Regions from separate parts of the Homo sapiens genome. Here region 2 is linked to region 1. The links are contacts of gene promoters, found by promoter capture Hi-C in human tissues and cell types (Jung and others, 2019). All regions are on one chromosome and are shown on one strand. Each heading gives the region's core, a stretch centred on a gene start or on the middle of the fragment in contact. The rest is flanking DNA. Distances are from core to core; before and after follow the strand shown.

Evidence for each region. The method cuts DNA at HindIII sites, captures the fragments that hold promoters and counts their contacts. A contact is called where the count stands out against the background at its distance.
Region 2: a contact is called between a fragment that was not itself captured here and the fragment with the promoter of RNF115 in region 1, in 3 of the 25 tissues and cell types used here (IMR-90 fibroblasts, mesendoderm cells and thymus).

What each region holds. Positions count from the first base shown.
Region 1 is chr1:145,820,063-145,825,419 of GRCh38, forward strand. It overlaps RNF115 (ring finger protein 115), which reads right to left and starts at 4,033. Exons shown (of 9, transcript NM_014455.4): 1 at 3,710-4,033. The coding sequence starts at 3,811. It overlaps POLR3C (RNA polymerase III subunit C), which reads left to right and starts at 4,138. Exons shown (of 15, transcript NM_006468.8): 1 at 4,138-4,307. RefSeq lists an enhancer at 3,999-4,398. The HindIII fragment of the contact is 19,576 bases long and covers 1-5,357 here.
Region 2 is chr1:145,697,850-145,704,100 of GRCh38, forward strand. All of the region lies in intron 1 of PDZK1 (PDZ domain containing 1), which reads right to left. Among named protein-coding and RNA genes, the nearest start is that of PDZK1, 6.4 kb to the right of the region's middle. The HindIII fragment of the contact is 5,621 bases long and covers 1,352-6,251 here.

The sequences.
Region 1 (5,357 bases), core at 2,783-5,282:
AAGCTAATCTACCACAATCAAGTAGTCTTTACTCCTGGGATGCAAGGTTAGTTCAACATAGGCAAATCAATAAATGTGATTCATCACATAAACAGAATTAAAAACAAATACCACATATCAGGCCAGCCGCAATAGCTCATGCCTGTAACCCCAGCACTTTGGGAGGCTGAGGCAGGCAGATTGCTTAAGCCCAGAAATTTGAGACCAGCCGGGGCAACATGGCAAAATCCCATCTCTACAAAAAAGAAAAAAAAATTAGCCAGGCATGGTGGAACACACCTATCTACTACTACTCAGGAGGATATAGTGGGAGGACACATTGAGCCCACAAATTCAAGAACAGCCTGGGCAACAAGACAGAATAAATTCTGTCTCTATTTAAAAAGAAAAAAAGAGGCCGGGTGCAGTGGCTCACACCTGTAATCCCACCACTTTGGGAGGCCAAGGTGGGCATATCACAAGGTCGAGATGGAGACCATCCTGGCCAACATGGTGAAACCCCGTCTCTACTAAAAATACAAAAATTAGCTGGGCATGGTGGCACGTGCCTGTAGTCCCCACTACTTGGGAGGCCGAGGCAGGAGAACTGCTTGAACCCAGGAGGTGGAGGTTGTAGTGAACCGAGATCGCACCACTGCACTCCAGCCTGGTGACAGAGCGAGACTCAGTCTCAAAAAAAGAAAAAGGGAATATACTGTATATTTGAAAATTGCTAAGACAGATTTTAAGTGTTCTCACCACGCAAAAATAAGTATGTGAGGTAATGCATGTTAAATAGCTTGATTTAACCATTCAGTGTATACATATATCAAATCATGCTGAACACTATAAAAAATATAGTATACAACTTTTAGTTGTGAAAAAAACATGATTTATTAAATATTTCTCCCTTCTTCATCAACTCCCTCTTCCTTTTGCTACCTCACAGTCTTTGGAATTCTCAATCTGAAATGTACCCATCCCTCAAAACTCAATTTAAATCCCACTGGCCACACCAATGCTATGAAATTCCCCTCTCTGAATCCTAAAGCACATATCCTCATTCCCTTTATGCTGTTACTTTTTCTATGTTTGCCTTGTCTTTCCCCAAAAGCTGTAAGATCCTTAAGGGCAGGAGCCACATATCACTCCCTATCACCTCCAGGACACTCAGCAGAGAACCTTGGATATATTTAGGAAGAATCCGGTTATACTCAATTGTGTTAGGCCTCAATTTACAAATCAGATATGACAAATAATATATCACACCAAAAAGATCAAGAAACTTCTCCAGGCATTAACTAAGGCTTAGAAAAACACCTATTCAGCTTTTCAAATTATCCCTTTGAAGTAAGGACTTAAAGGTGAGAAGAAAAGATATAATCAATTGGGGAAGTTTAGACTGTCTTCTCACTCTTTTTTTTTTTTTTTTTTTTTTTTTGAGACAGGGTCTGGCTCTATTGCCCAGGCTGGAGTGCAATGGTGCGATCTCAGCTCACTGCAACCTCTGCTTCCTGGGGTCAGGCAATCCTCCTACCTCAGCCTCCTGAATAGCTGGGACTACAGGTGCATGCCACCACACACACGGCAAATTTTTTTATTTTTTGGTAGAGACGGGGTTTCTCCATGTTGCCCAGGCTAGTCTCGAACTCCTGAGCTCAAGCGATCTGCCTGCCTTGGACTCCCAAAGTATTGGGATTACAGGCCTGAGCCACCACGCCTGGCCAACTTCTCACTCTTAAAGGCAAAATAGTGAACAGCAACTTAAAGATCAAAAAAGCTAAGGATGGAATATTCAACAAGGCATCACATTCAACAACACACCACTGGTCACACACATACTGGCTGAATTCCAGACTCCCTCTCTATGGTAGAAGAGTTCTGCAGGCTCTGATGTTGGCTGGAAAAAAACTAGACACCTGCTCTTCCCAGCACTGAAATATGGCCAAAAAAAAAAACATAAACACACAGCAAAATCAGCAAACAAAGCTAAGTAGCATTTAGGCGGGGAGCAGTGGCTCACGCCTGTAATCCCAGCACTCTGGGAGCCCGAGTCGGGTGGATCACTTGAGGTCAAGAGTTCGAGACCAGCCTGGCCAACATGGTGAAACTGCATCTCTACTAAAAACACAAAAATTAGCCAGGGTGCGGTGGTCGTGCACCTATAGTCCCAGCTACCCGGAGGCCGAGGCAGGAGACTCTCTTGAACCCGGCAGGTGGAGGTTGCAGTCAGCCGAAATCATGCTCCTGGGTGATAGACAGAGGCTGTCTCAAAAAAAAAAAAAGAAAAAAGAAAAACAGCTAAGTAGCATTTAGATGAAACTATGACTCTGAAGTAGGGGGTGCGGCAAGTAGAGAGGAAAGAATGTATCATAATGCCTTAAACAAAACTTTTGAGTGAGAGAAGACTATAAAACACCCTTTAAGCACTTATTCACTGGACTCCATTTGTGTTTCTAAGAAATAAGATATACAGACTCACTTCAGAAGGTTTTCTCCTACACTGTATCTGAGACACCATAAATAGAAACATACATTATGTTGCCACTCTATCACAAGACTGAACCTGGACACTTGTAAGGAAAGGAACAACCATAAAGACAGTTGGCCAAGGACAGGATTGACATTCACTCTGGGGGAGCTCCTCGTAGTAGCTACAACCCAACCCAAAACAGTTTCTGGGTTTGTGATGCTGGTGCTGGCTAGTATGCTGCATAAATGTTGTTTGTTTTTGTAGAGAGGGGTCTCACTCTGTTGCCCAGGCTGGTCTCAAACTCCTGGCCTCAAGCAATCCTCCTGCCTCGTCCTCCCAAAGCACTGGGATTACAGACCTAAGCCACCGCGCCTGACCTACAAAAGTGTTTTCTTCCCAACCACAGCACTGCCTCTCAAGGGGCTAACACTCTGGCAGAAACTCGTGAAAACCAATTTCACGTCAGAGGAAGCATCCCCAACATTCTGTCCCGGCTCTTTTTCTTAGGTGAAGAAAGGGACAGGGCGGGGGGCGGAACAATGATATTAAAGACACTGGCAGCATGACAACCAAAATAAACGAAGTTGAAACAGTACGTCCTGCCTTCTTCCTAAAGCCATTTCCTTCAACAGTGATAGGAGTGCAGACCGTCTGCAAGTCATTAGTACGCTGCTGTCTTCACTGTCACAAGGACCCTGGAAACCACTGAAGAGCAAAATCCCCCTTTTCGCCCCACAGATACCTTCCAACCCCCTTTCTGTGCTTCCTTCCCTAGAAAAAACCGAAGAGTGACAATCCTCAGCAATCCGCTATTTCGCTTCACTGACAAGGGAGGTGGCGGGGGCGGTGGGGGGTGAAAAGTGGAAAAGAACACAGAGGAAGGTGAGAAGACACAGTGGAAGAAGTGTGGGGGGAGGTCATCGTAGGAAAAAGACCAGGTATAAAAGAATGCAAGAAAATTGAGGGGAGAGTTATCAGAGGGAAACTTGCTAAGAAAAAAAAAAATTAAGGACACGGGAGGTAAAGAGGTGAGGTCAGGTGGAGCAGCCCAGGATGAATTAAGAGGTGGGCAGGAGGTACGGGGCCGAGGCCGTGATGCCCAGGGTTTAGGGCCGGCGGCTTAGAAGTGGGCAGCAGGTATTCGGCAGACCGATGTCGGGCGAGTCAATGATGTGCAGAAAGCTCCAGACCCAGTTCCGGGAAATCGGGGCCAGGAATCTATGAGGTTCCCAAGTATAGAGAACACAGCGCTCTTACCGGTAGTTTGGGGCTGACCTCGCCCTTGCAAAAGTGGCAGAAAAACCGGTGGGCGGCTACAGCGGCGCCCGAGTCCGCCCCGGCCGCCGAAGCCTCCGCCATTTTTGCCCTCCGCCGCGGCCGTCCGAGAGGGCAGCCGGCCCGTCCCTCGCCAGGCCGCTACCTCCCGAGCTGCAGTCGTCGCCGCCGCCGCCGCCTCGGTGCGGCCCACCGCTTCAGAGCCCGCGTCGGTCACGTGAGTTGGCCAGGCCCAGAAACGCGGCGGCGCCAACAGCTACCCTGCGGCCCGCCTCCCAGCACCAAAGAGGCGCAGGAAGGAGAGACAAACGGCCCGCCCGCCGGCTCCACAAACAGCCCCTCGCTGGTCCTCCAGTCTTCCAGCGAGAAGAAAGAAAGAGCGTCCCCGGAAGCCGCCGAAACTCTGGGGTAGAGTGGCACGCGCTTTTTGCTTTTCCGCGTCTTCTTCGGTGGCGATCCGCGTCCTAGAAAGGGCGGTGGGCTCCACCTCGGCCTAGAAGGCCAGCGGGAGCCGTAGGAAGCCGTCGCGGGAAGCTCAGCCGAATTGGAGTTGGAGCCCCCGGATTGCGCTGACCCTGAGGTTAGTGGAAAATGCTGTCTGAACGTGGCGGCACTGACTGGACCAAGAGACCACGTCCGAAACGGGAACCTGTGTAAAGGAAGTGTAGAGCTAGGAGCCAAGCGCCTTGGAAGCCCTTTCCGAGGATGGCAAAGGATCTGGGAATGCTTCTCCAAAGATATGTGGATGGACGAAATAGGTCTCTGGTGATACTGAGGCGGGGTGGGGACGGGGAGGCAAAGACTTGGCTTCTTAGGAATTGGAAGAAATAAGTAAACAATGTTTGGTAGCAATTTGTAATAAGGAAGTAATCATAAAATTAACTACGTCCGTTTCTGATTGTGTCAACTTTGTCAAGGAGTAGAAGTTTAAGAATTGAATACTGTCCTGCAAACAACGTAACCTCATCTCCTGTTTGACACACCCTGTTGAGAAGCAGTCCTTTACCTCCTAAATTTCTTTTTCGAAATTATCATTTCCTTTATGGACTGAGAATAACACTGCCTGTTCACTCCCACCGAGCTGTGAACAGTGACCTTAATTCTTCCAAGCAGTGAAGTGTAGAAACTAAGGTCTGTGACAGACCGCAAAATCATCTCCCAATCTTTAAGGAAAATCAGAATCACGCATAATCCCATAGAGATAAATTTGATGCATAGTCTTTTCCTATGCATACATTTTTCCTTTTTTTTTACAATAATTGAATTTTTATATTTTTTCAGCTTGCTTCTGTCACTTAATATATTATGAGTAATTTTTTTTGTTTTTTTTTGTTTTGGAGACAGAATCTCGCACTGTCGCCCGGGTTGGAGTGCAGTGGCGCGATCTCGGCTCACTGCAACCTCTGCCTCCCGGCTTCAAGCGATTCTCCTGTCTCAGCCTCCCTAGTAGCTGGGATTACAGGCACCCGCCACCACGCCCAGCTAATTTTTTTGTGTGTTTTTAGTAGAGAAGGGGTTTCACTATATTGGCCAGGCTGGTCTCAAACTCCTGACCTCATGATACGCCCACCTCGGTCTCCCAAAGTGCTAGGATTACAGGCCTGAGCCACCGCGCCAGCCTATTATGAAT
Region 2 (6,251 bases), core at 2,912-5,411, 120 kb before region 1:
CCTTGTGGTCCGCCCGCCTCAGCCTCCCAAAGTGCTGGGATTACAGGCATGAGCCACTGCACCCAGCCTGGATGTTTTTATTTTTAACATTAAGGAAACGATCAGCATGTTTCTGTATCAAGAGATGATATGGAGAACATGGAAACTGGGGTTAGCCTTGGTGAGAGGAAATACCTCTTCTCCAGGGGCAGAAGAGAAGTAGAAAAAAATATGATAAAGAAGAAAACAAGGTCACTTACCTCAGCCTCAATCTCTCCTACGAAGTAGCTGACAAAAATCAGGAACTTGGAGAATATGGAGCAAAAGTACCACAGAAAAATAATCTCTAGGGTCAAACAGGTAAATCAGCGAAGGTGGCCGAGAGGGGACGGAGGAAAAGCTGCTGCTTTTCATGAGAAGACAACTGCCTGAGGAAGAGGAGGCCAGCATGCCACCTTTCAATTTTCAAGAGACTCTGGAAATCTAGATTTACATAAAATGTCCCCATTTAAAAAAACTGACAGCTATTTCAAACTTAAAAGAAATTCTATGTAAACCAAAAGAGAATGGAGCCCCCGAGCTGGCGGTGAACTAAGACAGTGAACTAATGGCCACAGCATTAGCTCACTACAAAGAGTCAATGAATTGAATTAAAATGTCTAAGAAACAACTTAGGTTAAAATATATATATATAATAAACTTGCAGCAGCATGGGTTCCCATGGATTTTTCTTACAGTAATATACATCAAGAATAGAAAAGGAAAGTGGTAACTTTTACCCTAAGTTGGGGCTAACATATTTTTAAAACATAAGGGTAGGCCAGGCGCAGTGGCTCACACCTATAATCCCAGCACTTTGGGAGGCCGAGACGGGTGAATTACTTGAGGTCAGGAGTTCGAGACCAGCTTGGCCAACATGGTGAAACCTCATCTCTCCTAAAAACACAAAAAACATTAGCCAGGTGTGGTGGCAGGCACCTATAACCCCATATACTCCGGAGGCTGAGACAGGAGAATTGCTTGAACCCGGGAGGCGGGAGGCGGAGGCTGCAGTAAGCCAAGATTGCACCACTGCACTCCAGCCTGGGCGACAGAACGAGAGTCTGCCTCAAAAAATAAAAAATAAAGGCCAGGTACAGTGGTTCATGCCTGTAATCCCAGCACTTTTGGAGGCCGAGGCAGGCGGATCACCTGAGGTCAGGAGTTTGAGACCAGCGTGGCCAACTTGGCGAAACCCTGTCTCTACTAAAAATACAAAAATTAGCCAGGCTTGGTGGTGGGCATCTGTAATCCCAGCTACTCAGGAGTCTGAGGCAGGAGAATCACTTGAACCCAGGAGGCAAAGGTTGCAGTGAGCTGAGATCACGCCATTACACTCCAGCCTGGGCAACGAGTGAAACTCCATCTCAAATTTAAAAAAAAATAAAATAAATTTAAAAATTAGCTGGGCGTGGTTGTGCGTGCCTGTAATCCCAGCTACTCAGGAGGCTGAGGCACAGGAATCGCTTGAACCCGGGAGGTGGAGGTTGCAGTGAGCCAAGATTGTACCACTCACTCCAGCCTCAGTGACACAGCAAGACTCCATCTCAAACTAACAAGCCCATAAGAGTAGGATGTGAGGATTTCTAGATTTACAAGGGGCACAGAGCTGGAATGTCAGACTGTGGGGCCAACATGAATTGGCAGATAAGAGGAGCTAGGAGTTTGGGATTGGGAAGATGAAATGTTTCAGGGACTAGCTTAGCAGCATGAGTTGGGAAGAAAGAAGAAGGGACTGTGGAAGCAGTTTCAAAAGTTAGTGGGTTGACACAGGAAAAGTTATCTGAAAAGATCTTTAGAGCAGAATAGTTCCCCATGATGCAATTCTAAAGGAGCCAGATGTGTATACAAAAGGGAATCTGTATTTTTGTTTCCATCTTCCCCCAGGATCGATTCTGAGTAAGGTAGAGTAGAAAGAGCAAGGGTTTTAGAGCCAAACCTAGTTTTTAATCCTGGCTTCACCGCTTGTTAACTGTAAGAACATGGGTGAGTTCCTTAATTTTGAGCTGAAGATAGAATACCCCTAGAATAGGAAGCACATGTGGATGCCGTGAAGATGGCTCACAGTAGAGCATGCAAGGCCTCTCAGCACAGTTTCTGGAGCATAGAAGTCCACTCCATCCAAGTTACTCTTTCCTGTCCTCTGATGAAACGCCTGATGCAATGGGAATCCCATTTTCTGTGAGAATATTTGAAATTTTTCCTGATTTTCTTTTTGCAGAAGACAGGAAGAAATTACAGACTAAGAATGGGCAGGCACCTCAATGATCAGGCAAGGGATTCTCTATCTACTCAGTCCAGATCACTTCTGCGAAGCTAATTTTAGCTGCTGAAAAGTCAGGGCTGGAGATTTTGTTCCCCATGAAAGAAAGCTCAAATAATAAACTCTGGACTCAAAAGTATCCTGTAAGTCTAAAAGCCAGGGAATTACAAAATAGAACCAAATGCTGTGTATCAAGGAGGTAAAAGAGTCCAGGGAGCTTTAACAGAATTTCAAGACTAAGCTGGCCAGAGAGTTCCACCGCCTGGAGTGGATAAGCTCTAACAGAAGTGAACATAGGGACCCAAGGAACAGACAGCAGTGGAGAAGATGGAGTGAGTGAAGCATTACCTTAGCTATAGATACCTGGCCCAGAGAGGGACCTTCATAGCCAAGGAGTAGCTAGTGAATAGGCTCACTCACCAGACAGCATCACTGAAATGCCAAAAGATCAGAGAGAGGGCATGGGATAAACAGCATTCTGCTTGGAGGGAGAAAGACAGAAGGGGGCTGTCACCAGCGATGGCCAGATGCAATGAAATACCATCAGGAAAGAAACAGCCCAGGTACTGTCATCTCTGCTCATCTTCCAAGGTCTGGGACTTAGAAGTGGCAGGATTATTCCATAAATATAGTCATCTACACCTGAACCCACCATCACCTTATCTAATAGTAACTAGGAATCAATTATGCCGTCAGTATCACACCACGAAGACAACAGAGCCTCTCCCCACAAGGCACTTACATAACCAACACTCAATCCATGAAAACACTAAACACTAAAAACTTAGCAGGGGCTGGGCGCGGGGGCTCATGCCTGTAATCCCAGCAGTTTGGGAGGCTGAGACAGGAGGATCACCTGAGGTCAGCAGTTTGAGACCAGCCTGACCAATATGGTGAAACCCCGTCTCTACTAAAAATACAAAAATCAGCTGGGTGTGGTGGCACACGCCTGTAGTCCCAGCTACTCGGGAGGCTGAGACAGGAGAATTGCTTGAACCCAGGAGGTGGAGGTTGCAGTGAGCCAAGATAGTACCACTGCACTCCAACCTGGGCAACAGAGCGAGACTCCATCTCAAAAAAAAAACAAACACTTAGCAGGACTGCTGGTGAGGAATGTTTAACCCTAGTTACTCTGACTGTGGAAGGGTATCTGATTGTATAATCTAGTATGAAACCATAGAGTAAGTTACTTCTGTTTTGTTGAGGCATAAGGAAAAGAAAGGGCAGGGTCTCTCCGGCAACATTAAACCTAGACATTACTTGCTTTCCACTGAACTCCATGCTTGCCTATAAAACACTCTGAACTTTAGCAAGAAAAAAGCCACATTCTCAGGACGCTTGACCACAGTGTGCACTTTGAGGAATGCTGTTCTTGCAGCACTTGTGTGCATCTGTGTAACAAGAAAGAAGAAAACAAACCCACTAGACTTTTGTTAGGAAAATACAGTTGGTGGAGACTGTGCAACATTAAGCCAGCAACTATAGACAGGCTGAGAATTCCCTACAGGCATCAGCCCTGACTCCAAGGCTTCATGCCTCACACCAGCCATGGCTGGCCTCCTTCAGAGCCTGCCACAGAGCCTTGGCACATGCTGTTCCTTCCAACAGCATAAGCAAAAAAATCCTGCTGTATCTGAGCTGCTACTGACAGATGTCTCTAGCAAGGAAGAGATAAAGACAACTCAATTTCACCCTTCTTCAAATATATTTTACCTAGAACAGATCCTATATTTTTATGCAGATCATATTTAAGGCTGCCTGGATTTCTCCTCTGAAAAGCAAAGCATATGGAAATTCAAATACTCAAGTATATTTACTTTAAATAATTAATATCAAAAATAGAAGGAGAAGCAAGATTCTAAAATATGTATTTGCCTAGTGTACTTTCCCATTGTGATAGTTACTGTTTGGTCTTAGCCAGGGATAAATTTCAAATATGAGAAATCAATGAAATCCATTCCATTGAGAATTATCTGGAGAAGAGTGATCCCAGACCCACTGAGTAGTTTTTATTTCTCATTTATGATCAAGAATGGAATCTACTTATCCCAAAGTTCATTTGGCCTGCTGATACTAAGTACCTTCCCTACCTCCAGCCACCATAAACAATACTTTGTCCTATATGGCAAGACTCTGGGCTGGAGTTCAAGGCCTTTCACAGTTTGATTGCTTATCTAAGAGTTCTATGAGTTGGGAGAGGGATAGAGCCAATATTGTGTGGAAACAGAGGCACCCACAGAGAGAGGACACCCTCATGCTGCTGATAGACAGCTCAACCGCCTTGAGTGCCAGCTGAGACAAGTGCTTTCCCCAAATCGACATTTTGTGACTTTTTGAACTTGCATTTCTACCCCCCCACTTTTTTTTTGGTATGTTTAAACTACTACAAGAGTCTTGCCTCGAGACAAACTTTCTAACCCTGGTTTTATTATACTACCATCTCAAAAATAATAATAATAATAATTCAAGAAAAAGAAGCTCGGCCGGGTGCAGTGGCTCACGCCTGTAATCCCAGCACTTTGGGAGGCCAAGGCAGGCGGATCACGAGGTCAGGAGATCGAGACCATCCTGGCTAACACAGTGAAACCCCATCTCTACTAAAAATACAAAAAATTAGCTGGGTGTGGTGGCGGACGCCTGTAGTCCAAGCTACTCGGGAGGCTGAGGTAGGGGAATGGTGTGAACCCAAGAGGCGGAGCTTGCAGTGAGCCAAGATCGTGCCACTGCACCCCAGCCTGGGCAACAGAGCAAGACTCCGTCTCAAAAAAAAAGAAGTTCAAGCTTCTTGCTCAGGCACTGAGGCTCAGCATAATCCAGCCCTACCTCAGGCCCCCAGCTCCTCAGCAAGCCCCAATTGGTCTATGCATGGTCACCCACACGAGCCTGCCCTTTGCTCATGCCCCATGAGCACTTACTCATAGTACGTGCTAAGTAAACATTTGTTCCAAGTGAACGAATTTAAGACCTACCATTTTCAAGGCTCAGTTCAAATTTTAGATTATATACGAATCCTTCCATGACCACCACAGTCTGAAGGTATCATTTCATCTTCTGAATTTCAGTTATCGCTCATGTACTTAACAAGTTCTATGTAATACCTACTGCGAGGCAGGTATCAGGGCTCAACCCAGAATAGCTACCGTCCTGCCCTGAAAGAGCCTGGAGTCCAGTGGGGAGAGTTATGAAGTTTAACTGCTGAACAACGTTGTGGGTGCTGGAATATTTAAATACAAAAGCTTTCTTATTGTTATATATATTTATTGAGCTCCCTACTAGGATTAGGAACCAGCCTAGGTACTTTTTATGGGTTCTGATTCAATCCTGATGGGCCATTTTACAAGGAAAAAGAAAAGAGACTCTGAAAAGTTAACTTGGTTTCCCCTGACTATTTGGATAAGCAGAGTCTGGATTCAAACCCAGTTGAGTCTGGATTCCTTCCACCATCTACCCTGCCTCCCAGGCCTGAGGTGTAGAATGTATTCTGGAAATACAAGTAGTCAGACTAGGAAGAGGAAGTCATCCCAGGCAGAAGGAACAGCAGGAGATGCATTCCCAGAATGGTGAATGGTTCAGAAAGATCAGAGCACAGTTATATGTTGAAAAAAAGAAGTAGGTTAGACTGTGAGCACTGGACTCAGTCCAGTAGACTATAGAGGAGCTTCAGGATCCATGTCGTGTGTCCCCAACAAGATAAGCTTTTTTTTTTTGGCCAGGAGGGATGGAATCTTGCTCTTGTGGTCCAGGCTAGAGTGCAGTGGTGCGATCTCGGCTCACTGCAACCTCTGCCACTTGGATTCAAGCAATTCTTCTGCCTCAGCCTCCTGAGAAGCTGGGATTGAAGGCACCCGCCACCACACCCGGCTACTTTTTGTATTTTTAGTAGAGATGGGGTTTCACTATGTTGGCCAGGCTGGTCTCAAACTCCTGACCTCAAGTGATCCACCCTCCTCAGCCTCCCAAAGTGCTGGGA